3 separate regions of the Homo sapiens genome follow, and all the other regions are linked to region 3. Evidence: promoter capture Hi-C in human tissues and cell types (Jung and others, 2019). All regions are on one chromosome and are shown on one strand. The core of a region is centred on a gene start or on the middle of the fragment in contact, and the rest is flanking DNA. Distances in the headings are between cores, read along the strand shown. Region 1 holds the start of TRIM8 (tripartite motif containing 8). Region 2 overlaps SUFU (SUFU negative regulator of hedgehog signaling). Region 3 holds the start of NOLC1 (nucleolar and coiled-body phosphoprotein 1).

Region 1 (3,692 bases), core at 149-2,648, 490 kb after region 3:
AGAAGCCGCGGGCAGACAGACGGACCTCGGACCGAGCAACGGGTGCGGGCCCGCCCCGGACGCGTCGCCTGGGCAGCAGCCGGGGACCGCGGGCTCTCGCCTTTCTGCCGACTTCTTCCAATTCTCATCTTCTTTTATTTTTTGGACAGGACCGGGGTGGGTGGAGCAGAGGTGGAGAGAAATCGGGACTTGGCATTTTCTCCCTCTCTCTCTCCTAATTTGTTGGAGGCCGCCAGCCCTCCCCTTGGAAAAAAAAAAATCCCACCAAAAAAAAAAAAAAAAGAATCAGGAGCGAGAGGACGCCGCGGGGCCCTCAGCGAGCGCGCCCAGACCCCGGCCGCCGCCGCGGAGCCCAAGATGGCTGGGCGCTGAGGGTGGCGGCTCGGCCTGGCCCCGCCGCCGCAGGCTGGCTCCGACCGCAGCCCCGAGCCTTCCAGGCCCCAGCAGAGGCCGAGAAGAAAAGAAAGTGGGGAGGAGGGGGCCGGGGGGGCGAAGGGGGAGGGCCGGGGGAGGGGAGGGGAGGGCCGGGAGCCGAGCCTCCTGTTCATTAGCAGTTGAGAAAAATTCCTTTCTAGTTTGATCAATCCTTGTTTTCCTCGGCAGAGCCCGGGCGCCCGCCCAGCGCGGAGACGGGCGCGCGGGGTCTCTCCGCGGCGGGGGCGCCGGGCCTCGGGGGAGCGCAGAAGTAGCCGCCCGGGGGTCAGGCCGGAGCGCCGCCGGGGCTTCTCCCTCCCTCCCTCGCCGGTTGCCTTTTTTTCCACTTCTCTCCCTCCCCCTTCCGTTTCTATTTGTGAAGGGAGGAGGAAGGCAGAGGCGGGCTGGTGTCTCTGGCCGGGGACTGGAATTTCATCTGAATGACTGCCCCTGCGCGCACGCAGCGCCCCGGAGTCGGCCCGCCCGCGCCCCGCAGCCCGCGCCCGGCCAGCCAGCCGGGGGACGCCTGCACCGTGGCCCGGGGACCGCCGGCCTGCCCCTCCCGCCCCGTCCGGATCTAGCAGCCCTCGGCGCGGCCGCCCTCGCCTCCTGGCCCCGCAGACCCCGGGCTCCGGCCCCTGCGAGGGAGGTGCGGCGCCGACGAGCCAGGCAGGAGCCGCCGCTGCCGCCGCCGCCGGAAGAAGTGTGCTGCTCCCAAGCTCCGTCTGCCGCGGGGCGCGCCCCAATGTCAGCCGCGGGGACGAGCGCAGGCCGCGGGCCGCCACTGCCCTAGCCGCGCCGACGGGGAGGCGGCCTCTTATATGGAATTTGGACCCCGGCGCTCCCCTCCAAGGCTGGAGTCCCGGCCGCGGCCCTGGCGCAGTCCGCCGCCTCCCGCTAGGCGCTCGGGAGGAGGAGGAGACGCAGCCCGCTGCGCGCGCGGCGTGAGGACCGCGGCTCCCTCCTCCGGGGGGCGGGCACGCGGAAGGCGCTGCTGACTGAGCGACCGTCGGGGCCGGCTGGGGCCGGAGCTCGGGGCTCGGTGGGCCTACAGCGGCTCCGGACGGACCCCCGGGGCTGGGGAGTCGGGGAGGCCTGCCCCGGCCCCCTGCCCGCGGCCGCCATGGCGGAGAATTGGAAGAACTGCTTCGAGGAGGAGCTCATCTGCCCTATCTGCCTGCACGTTTTCGTGGAGCCAGTGCAGCTGCCGTGCAAACACAACTTCTGCCGGGGCTGCATCGGCGAGGCGTGGGCCAAGGACAGCGGCCTCGTACGCTGCCCAGAGTGCAACCAGGCCTACAACCAGAAGCCGGGCCTGGAGAAGAACCTGAAGCTCACCAACATCGTGGAGAAGTTCAATGCCCTGCACGTGGAGAAGCCGCCGGCGGCGCTGCACTGCGTGTTCTGCCGCCGCGGCCCCCCGCTGCCCGCGCAGAAGGTCTGCCTGCGCTGCGAGGCGCCCTGCTGCCAGTCCCACGTGCAGACGCACCTGCAGCAGCCCTCCACCGCCCGCGGGCACCTCCTGGTGGAGGCGGACGACGTGCGGGCCTGGAGCTGCCCGCAGCACAACGCCTACCGCCTCTACCACTGCGAGGCCGAGCAGGTGGCCGTGTGCCAGTACTGCTGCTACTACAGCGGCGCGCATCAGGGACACTCGGTGTGCGACGTGGAGATCCGAAGGAATGAAATCCGGGCAAGTACCCTACGCGCGCGCGCGCACACACACACACACAGACACACAGTCCCTTCCTCTCTCCCGCCCCGGGACCACCCATCCCGACAGGCTGACTCTTGTGACATCAGGCCAGTGGCCCCTGGCCAAACTCTTCTCTGAAAGTTTGGGGACAGGGTCCTGGGAAGAAGGGCCCCGGGTCGCTACTTGGTACATTCTCGCACCTGTGCGCACAGGGTCCGTCTTCTGAGTGCTTTATGGGATTGGGGTGTGGGACCGTCAGGGGTAGAGTCTGGGTGTTGCTTTTCTGTGGTGCGCAGCTCCCTCCCCCAGTCTTGTTGCTGTAGGCCCTACGGGAAGTCACCGAGGCAGTGACCCCGGTCCTGCCTCTCCAGCTGCTGTTTATGTAATGAGTGTCCCGGTGCCGCTGCTGTGGCTGACATGATCCATGATGCTGGCATACCAATGAGGAAGTAAACAAAAGCAGCCATGTTAGTTTTCAGCGCTATTGGAAACACACTGGGGGGGGAGTGGGGGGAGTTTCCAGAGGGAGAGCAGAACTCCGGCCGTCTCTCTGGACAGGGCCTGGGCAGCCAGCGAGGCCCCGACAGCGGCTCCGCTATTTGGATTCCTCCCGAGAGCCGGCTCTCCCTGTGTGAGAATCGCTGCCCTGTGTGCCTGTGTGTCGCACGGGCCGCATGAACAAGCCTTCAAGTATCTGTCTTCATCATCCTGGCCCTTTCGCCTAGCACAGCCCTCTCGCCGCCCTCCCACATTTGGGGAGGGGAAGTGGAAGACGGAAAAAGAATCCTGTGGGTTTAAGGTTGAGCCGCCTTGAAATCTGGTTTCAGGCAGCTGGCTCCCCTGGGCTGCCGGCTGGGTGATTACGGAACCGCGTCCCCTCCCATTGTATACACCCTGCGGCCGCGGCCAATGTCAAACCGCCTCCCCCCTCAGGCCTCTGGGCCTGGTTTTGGAGCTGGACTGAGGCAATACTTCCGTCCCCTTCAGTGGAGGGGGCTCCTCCTAGGTCCCTCCCCAGTCCTCTGGCTTTCAGGGTTGAGTCATACCAAAATGAAGGGGTTGGCCTGACACCGAGGAGTCCTCTCTGAAGCCCCACCTTGGGGCCTGGGGCCTGGGTGTGATATCTGGGGGCTAGGCTGCACTCTGGTGGGACTGGGAGTGTCTCTGGGTGGGGATCCCTGGAGGTTAGTGGAGGCCAGTGCGGAGGCTGGCTATGAGGAAGCTCTGTTCAGGGCATGATTGGAGATGGGGCTGTTTCCTGTGTGGGGGGACCAGTCAGAATGAGTCACTGTTTAGCAATTAAAAAACATACACATACAACCAACAAAAGGCAGGAGGGCCACCACAGGCTGGGGCGGGGGCAGCAAATACGATTTGCTGTATAATTAGTTTCCAATCGGATGGACTAGCCCTGGGTTTGTGTGCCAGGATAGGCCTCTGGTTTCTTAAAGGAAGTGTGTCCTCCACCCCCTGTGTCCTCCATCCCCGTTCAGGGCAGGCACAGCCCACACTTTCCCCAGTATTGGGAAGCTGCTGCTATTAATAAAGATGGAAGGGCTGGGGGAGGAGGCCGGGAAAAGTG
Region 2 (3,603 bases), core at 687-3,186, 410 kb after region 3:
AGCTAACTAAAGCCAAATGGAGCTGCCTGGTTATATTCATATCATTTTTCTCCCTCACACTCTTTTTAATTTTCCTGACATTTTCTTTGCCTCAACCTGATTCATCCTCTTTTCTGGTTGCTGTGGATCTGTGAAATATTTTCACTTTTATCAGTTAGTAATACTGACCAACTGTAAGACAAAACAACTCTTGATTTCTCTGCACTTTCCTAAGATTTTAGATTAATAGTTGAAAGATTGTGTTCCTACTGCACTGAAGAAAAACAGGTCAGTCCCTCAGAAATGAGTTTGTGCCCTAAAATTTAAGTGATTTAGCCAATATATAAATCTGGGTATTTTTAGGGAAAACTTAAACCCTGAGAGCAGAGGTTGGCAAGTACAGCCTGCAGGCCAAATCCTGATAATCACCTGTTTTTATAAGTAAAATTATATTGGAACATAGCCATACCCATCATGGATTACCTGGGCTTCTTTTGTGCCACAGCAGTGGAGTTGACTAGTTGTAACAAGAATGATATGGCCCTCAAAGCCTGAAATATTTTATCTCTGGCCGTTCACTGCAAAAGTCGGCCGACAACTGACTTAGAGAATGTTTTCCACTTCTGAATAACAACTCAGGTGGAGAGGTAGCCATCTCTGTGAGATTTCAGAGGTCCCGAGAAATGAGTTGCCTTAGCTGGGTCCTGTGCTCTGTGGCCTGTGGTAGAGGAATCAATTACAGTACCTAGAGTTTGTTGGGGTTGGGGGGTATGCATCTCCTGCTGTGTTGCTGAAGGATTTTCTTTAGCAAGTTCCTTTAGCTTCTATAGGTCTGTATCCTACATTGGAGAACTACATTAAATGACTTGAAACTCTTAGTAGAAAGAGTCTATTTATTGTTTTTGAGACGGAGTCTCGCTCTGTCGCCCAGGCTGGAGTGCAGTGGCGCGATCTCGGCTCACTGCAAGCTCCGCCTTCCAGGTTCACGGCATTCTCCTGCCTTAGCCTCCCGAGTAGCTGGGACTACAGGTGCCCGCCACCACGCACGGCTAATTTTTTTTGTATTTTTAGTAGAGATGGGGTTTCACCTTGTTAGCCAGGATGGTCTCTATCTCCTGACCTCGTGATCTACCCGCCTCGGCCTCCCAAAGTGCTGGGATTACAAGCGTGAGCCACCACGCCTGGCCGAAAGCATTTATTTGATACAGGCATTCAGCTAGGATAATTCACCCTCGGACAAGGTCTCTCATCTCTGGACCCCTGTGGAGTTTTAATTGGTTGGCTCTTTCAGCGGAATGTGGCCCTTTTGTCTCTAGCACTTGCAATTCAGGGATGCTTTCTGCAGAGGGCAGTGAAGCCCACTGGCAAGCAGAGATTGCCGCTGGAGAGTTAGGACAGTAGAACTAGCATCTCTGCAGGAGGTAAAGCACTTTGATGACTGGAAACTGCTCATGATAGAGTGTTCAGCGAAGAGGGCTGGAAAAGAACATGGCTGAGAGCAGGAATCCAAATGGCAGGTTGCCTGGGTTCAAATCCTAGTTGGGCCATGTAGGACCAAAATTGAACATCTCTAACAGTTGGTTACTTCATCTGTGAAACACAGGTAATAGTAATATCTACTTCATAATATAGGTAGTGTTCCTAATGCAGACCCTAGCATTATACATAGAAACAATCAATATTATTTATGGCTGGGTGCAGTGTCTCACGCCTGTAACCCCATTACTTTGGGAGGCTGAGATGGGTGGATCACCTGAGGTCAGGAATTCGAGACCAGCGGGGCCAACATGGTGAAACCACGTCTCTATTAAAAGTACAAAAATTAGGTCAGGCGCGGTAGCTCACGCCTATAATCCCAGCACTTTGGGAGGCCAAGGGGGCGGCTCACAGGGTCAGGAGTTCTAGACCAGCCTGGCCAACATAGTGAAACCCCGTCTCTACTAAAAAATACAAAAAATAAACCAGGCGTGGTGGCGGGCGCCTGTAATCCCAGCTACTTGGGAGGCTGAGGCAGGAGAATCGCCTGAACTTGGGAGGCGGAGGTTGCAGTGAGCCGAGATTATGCCATTGCACTCCAGCCCAGGCAATAATGTGAGACTCTGTCTCAAAAAAAAAAAAAAAAAAAAGTACAGAAATTAGCCGGGCATGGTGGTGGGCACCTGTATAGTCCCAGCTACTCAGGAGGCTGAGGCAGGAGAATCACTTGAACCCGGAAGGCGGAGGTTGCAGTGAGCCGAGATTGTGCCACTGCACTCCAGCCTGGGTGACAGAGCGACTCCATCTCAAAAAAAAAAAAAGTTTATGTTGTTGTTTAAGAAGCACATTGCAAAAGAAAAGGAAACAGGCTCTTTTTTTTTTTTTTTTTTTTTTTGAGACAGAGTCTCGCTGTGTTGCTCAGGCTGGAGTGCAGTGACACAATCTCGGCTCACTGCAACCTCTGCCTCCCGGGTTCATGCCATTCTCCTGCCTCAGCCTCCCTAGTAGCTGGAATTACAGGTGCCCACCACCATGCCCTGCTAATTTTTTGTATTTTTATTAGAGACGGGGTTTCACTGTGTTAGCCAGGAGGGTCTCGATCTCCTGACCTCGTGATCCGCCTGCCTCGGCCTCCCAAAGTGCTGGGATTACAGGCGTGAGCCACTGCGCCCCATCCAAAACCTGTCAAGAAAAAAAAAGGCCAGGGCAGTGGCTTTCTTACTCAGTTTCTTCATAGCTCTCTCAGTGGAAAATGACTGGCACCCGTAAGCCATACACAGTACTGCTTGAGATTCCCTGGGAGTGGGTCTCCACCGCCAGGCCTGTCTTCTTGCCTTGCAGGGCAGACATGAGGACAAGCTTGTTGTTTAGGTTCTTCCCAGGACTCAAGGACCAAGAGAACAGAATGGCCCTCCCTCGAGGGTTCTGATGAGGTTCAAGCAGCATTTCTGACTCCTCACAGAGCCCTCTCTCTGGACAGATGACAGTTGGAGCTTGAGCCAGGGGAGGAAGAGAAAAGGGAGGGAATTCGGGTGCTTTTAAAGAGGGATTGCAGCACACCCAGGCAGTGGATTGTTGTTTTGCTGGCATGCAGCAGGTAGACTCTGAAACAGCAGTGGGGGTCCTTCTCTGCCTTGTCCTGCTTGGCCCAGTGGAAGCTGCATACCTGGGGCACTGTGCTGGGCAGGGAACACATCTCTGGGAGAGGCTATAGCCCAATATCCCCTAGCCCCAGGCCTAGCTCCAGCAGCCTATGTTTGGCTTTGAAGATTTAGGAAGAACAGGACACTATCAACCTCCTGGGCCAACCGGGCATGTCTAGGTCCTCCTGTATTGAGTACCGTGGTGATCTGAACACAGGAAAACCTTGTCCTTTGCTTCTCTTTACTGGGCCACTCACATCACACATTCATTGTCTTCTGTCCTTGGCTGGTACACTTTTATTCCCCCAAACAAATATAACATTATTGTTTTCCCTAATTACAAAAAGGACATTAAAAAAATCCAGGCAACACTGAAAACATAAAGAAACCTTGTCGCAGAACAATGGGTAGAGTGGAGTTTCATTTTTACTTAAAAAAAAAAAAAAGTATGACTTTGATTATACATGCTGAAAAGAAAGTCTTAAAGACTGCATATCAGATGTTA
Region 3 (3,583 bases), core at 559-3,058:
CAGGAAGGGATTTTGATAACAAGGACCTAGAGAAGCTCACACTTGTTCCAAAGAAAGGTTTTCTAAACTGCGACAGGTGTATACATTCATCATGTCAGTTATGTTCATCATTTTATAATAGCTTGAGCACACTGCATGGCACAGCAGGTGCTCAAATGTTTTAAATAATGCATGCATGTGGGTAGAACAGGAAGCGTGGGGAAGAGGGAACTGTGGAGTTTTTTGTTTCTGTTTTTGAATTTTTTTGTTTTGTTTTGGAGATGGAGTCTTGTTCTGTCTCCCAGGCTGGAGTGCAGTGGCACGATTTTGGCTTACTGCAACCTCTGCCTCCCGGGTTCAAGTGATTCTCCTGCCTCAGCTTCCTGAGTAGCTGGGATTACAGGCACCCGCCACCATGCCTGGCTAATTTTTTTTGTATTTTTAGTAGAGACAGGGTTTCACCATGTTGGCCAGGGCTGTTCTTGAACTCCTGACCTCAGGTGATCCACCCACCTTAGCCTCCCAAAGTGCTGAGATTACAGGCATGAACCACCGTGCCCAGCTTTGTTTTTGATTTTTGAGATAGGATCTCACTCTGTGGCCCAGGCTGGATTGCAGTGGCAGGATCATAGCTCATTGCAGCTTTGACCTCCCTGGCTCAGTTGATCCTCCTGCCCCAGCCTCCCAAGTAGCTGGGACCACAGGTGCATGCCACTACACCTGGCTAATTTTAAAAATTTTTTGTAGAGATAGGGGGGTTTCACTGTGTTGTCCAGGCTGGCCTCTTAACTCCTGGGCTCAAGGGATCCTCCCACCTAGGCCTTCCAAAGTGTTGAGATAACAGTTGTGAGCCACTATGCCTGGCCAATTTTATATAGGAGAGGGGGGTGTGTTCCCATGAGGATCCTTATCTTTCCTGAGCGGCATTAGTGGGAGGTAGCCAAGGGGTAGTGGGTAGGATTGAAGGGATTGCTAACTGCTAATATCTGGAATGTGGCAGAACTTGGAATTAACTTGGTAGGTCTGAGCATTGATACTGGAGTTACTCATGACAAAGGCATTGATACTGGAGTTACTCATGACAAAGGCAGAGTGTGAACTCTGATCCCGGAGGAAGAAGGGTTATTTTCAACAATCTCTTCAGCTTGAATAGATTGTTGCTGTGTGTGATTCAGGTTTGGTGCATGACACCTTTCCTCTTCATGGAGCTGACCTAAGGCGGAATATAAGGGAGATGGGAGGGGCAGCTTGGGAAATCAACACCTCCCACCCTCACGACGGATAACCCGAAGGATCTTCTGCAGCAGAGGCAGGAGTCTGGAGGCTGGGATGGTATCAGAAAGGGCCTCCCTGGGTATTGGAGGCAGTGAAGATGAAGGGCGAGAATCCATTGGCCGTGCCAGTACGCCATGGGGGCGGTTGGGAGATCTTGTAGAACAACTGTTCGAGCCCGCTTGTCCACTCATTACTCTGGAATCCGAGTCCCAGCAGGGGCGCGGGAAACCGCTGCTCTGAGAAAAGGTACCTCCCCCAGAAAGACTGCGCGGGAAGTCCCGAGTTTTCCCGCCACGCCGAGGGCGTGATCCCTGACGTCAGAGCTCCGCCTCCACAAGCTGGCGGCCGGTGGGCTCCGCCCTTAACCAAGATGGCGATACGCGTGGGACCGGAAAGAGTTTATAGATTTCCCGTCTACCCTACCTCTGAGGTGAAGGTGGGACTGCCCTGTGGAGCCCACCCTTTCCGTTATGCGCCCGCGCGGCGCAATGACGTAACACAGGCCCGCCCACTGCCCCTGTTGGGTTCCTGAGTCGTGCTGCGTCGACAACGGTAGTGACGCGTATTGCCTGGAGGATGGCGGACGCCGGCATTCGCCGCGTGGTTCCCAGCGACCTGTATCCCCTCGTGCTCGGCTTCCTGCGCGATAACCAACTCTCAGAGGTGGCCAATAAGTTCGCCAAAGCGACAGGAGCTGTGAGTTCCGGGCTTGGGGCGGGGACCGGGCTGAGATGACCACAAGGCTTCAGGCCCTGACGTGCTTAGGTTTCCAGGTGGGGAAGTCTGGGGGTCCGCCAGTCCAGTGTCTGCAAGGCCTTTACGCCGACCCCTCGGCAGTGACCAGAGAAAGCCTGCGGCCTCGGTCGCTTACCTTCCTCCATGTCTGAGTAGATATCGCTGAGTCTTGTTGCTTTTTTCTTGTGACCTGTGCAGCGGCGGCAGCGTGGGAGCCTCGTGGCCCCAAGCCACATGGCTGGCAGAGTGCAGCGGGGAGGTAGAGTCTTGTTCCACTGAGGACGTTGGTTCTTCGGCATCTTCTGGGGGGCTTTTCGTTGGGTGAGGCAAACCGTGATTTGACCTTAGCCTCAGTCACATTTACTGGGATTCAAAAGCAAGTGAAATTTCTTTAGAATGAAGTCTGGGATTTTCGTTTGTAAAGAAGAAAATGAATGAAAGTAGAAGCAGAGTTTTGTTTTGAGTTACACTGAGAATTGAGAGTCATCAACAGCCCTACCAAGTAGGCATAGTAGTGGGCTTGGAGCTTTGGCTAATTGAATCAAACAAACCTAGGTTTGGGACCAGGCTCTGCCACTTTTTAGATACGTGACCCGGGCAGTTTATTTAACCTTTCTGAGTCTTTCTACAGGGATGTCATCATCCACTTTATAGGATTTTTGTGAGTTTCAGTAAGATGATGTGTAAGAGTAGCAATCTCAGTGCTGGTACAGAGGAATCTTGTAAAAGTGAAAGCTGTACCATAGTTATGGCAATTTAGGATGCTCCAAACACATGTAAGAGTAAGAGAACCAGGAATGTGAAAGGTTTGTAATCTACATCAACGGACATTCCTGCATGGGAAGACACTTTGAGAGAGGAGAGAGGGGGGGTCTTCAGCAGGGATGATAGCATGACTAGGAAGGATGGCTTGCACTTTTAGCAGAATCAGGCTGCGAAAGCAAAGAATCAGATCAGCCTCAAAACTTCCTTAAGCTGGGACAGGCTGCCATGTGATCTAACTGCTTTCTTAATGAAACTGTTTAGAGTTGACTGTTAAGGAGACTGCGGAGAGTGCTTTCACAGTGGACTGGATGGAATTGGACATTTCAGAATTAGGATTCTTTTTTTTTTTTTTTTTTTTTTGAGACGGAGTCTCTGTTGCCCAGGCTGGAGTGCAATGGTGCGATCTCGGCTCATTGTAACCTCCGCCTCCCAAGTTCAAGTGATTATCCTGCCTCAGCCTCCCCAGTAGCTGGGATTACAGGCGCGTACCACCACGCCCGGCTAATTTTTGTATTTTTAGTAGAGATGAGGTTTCACCATGTTGGCCAGGCTGGTCTTGAACTCCTGACCTCAAGAAATCCACTTGCCTCAGCCTCTCAAAGTGCTGGGATTACAGGCGCGAGCCACCGTGCCCGGCCTCAGGATTAGGATTCTGAAATGGTTTTATGTGAGAAAAGCTAATCTTTGTGAAGAGCTAACTAAGGGTCAGATGCTACGCCCTTCACATGCATTTAATTTTTTTTTTTTTTTTTTTTGAGGCGGAGTCTGGCTCTGTCGCCCAGGCTGGAGTGCAGTGGCACGATCTCAGCTCACTGCAACCTCTGCCTCT

What was found. The method cuts DNA at HindIII sites, captures the fragments that hold promoters and counts their contacts. A contact is called where the count stands out against the background at its distance.
Region 1: the fragment with the promoter of TRIM8 here is called in contact with the fragment with the promoter of NOLC1 in region 3 in 1 of the 25 tissues and cell types used here (spleen).
Region 2: a fragment that was not itself captured here is called in contact with the fragment with the promoter of NOLC1 in region 3 in 2 of the 25 tissues and cell types used here (dorsolateral prefrontal cortex and lymphoblastoid cells).

What each region holds. Positions count from the first base shown.
Region 1 is chr10:102,643,081-102,646,772 of GRCh38, forward strand. It overlaps TRIM8 (tripartite motif containing 8), which reads left to right and starts at 1,399. Exons shown (of 6, transcript NM_030912.3): 1 at 1,399-2,107. The coding sequence starts at 1,538. TRIM8-DT (TRIM8 divergent transcript) reads right to left here and starts at 109. Exons shown (of 1, transcript NR_186489.1): 1 at 1-109. RefSeq lists enhancers at 37-791, 792-1,547, 1,649-1,778, 2,559-2,658 and silencers at 59-118, 389-488, 569-1,548, 2,834-3,050. The HindIII fragment of the contact is 20,827 bases long and covers 1-3,692 here.
Region 2 is chr10:102,564,680-102,568,282 of GRCh38, forward strand. The region is part of intron 3 of SUFU (SUFU negative regulator of hedgehog signaling); the gene reads left to right. Among named protein-coding and RNA genes, the nearest start is that of SUFU, 63 kb to the left of the region's middle. RefSeq lists an enhancer at 999-1,698. The HindIII fragment of the contact is 7,279 bases long and covers 1-3,603 here.
Region 3 is chr10:102,150,581-102,154,163 of GRCh38, forward strand. It overlaps NOLC1 (nucleolar and coiled-body phosphoprotein 1), which reads left to right and starts at 1,809. Exons shown (of 13, transcript NM_004741.5): 1 at 1,809-1,950. The coding sequence starts at 1,831. RefSeq lists enhancers at 1,295-2,494, 1,400-1,699, 1,870-1,919. The HindIII fragment of the contact is 9,767 bases long and covers 1-3,583 here.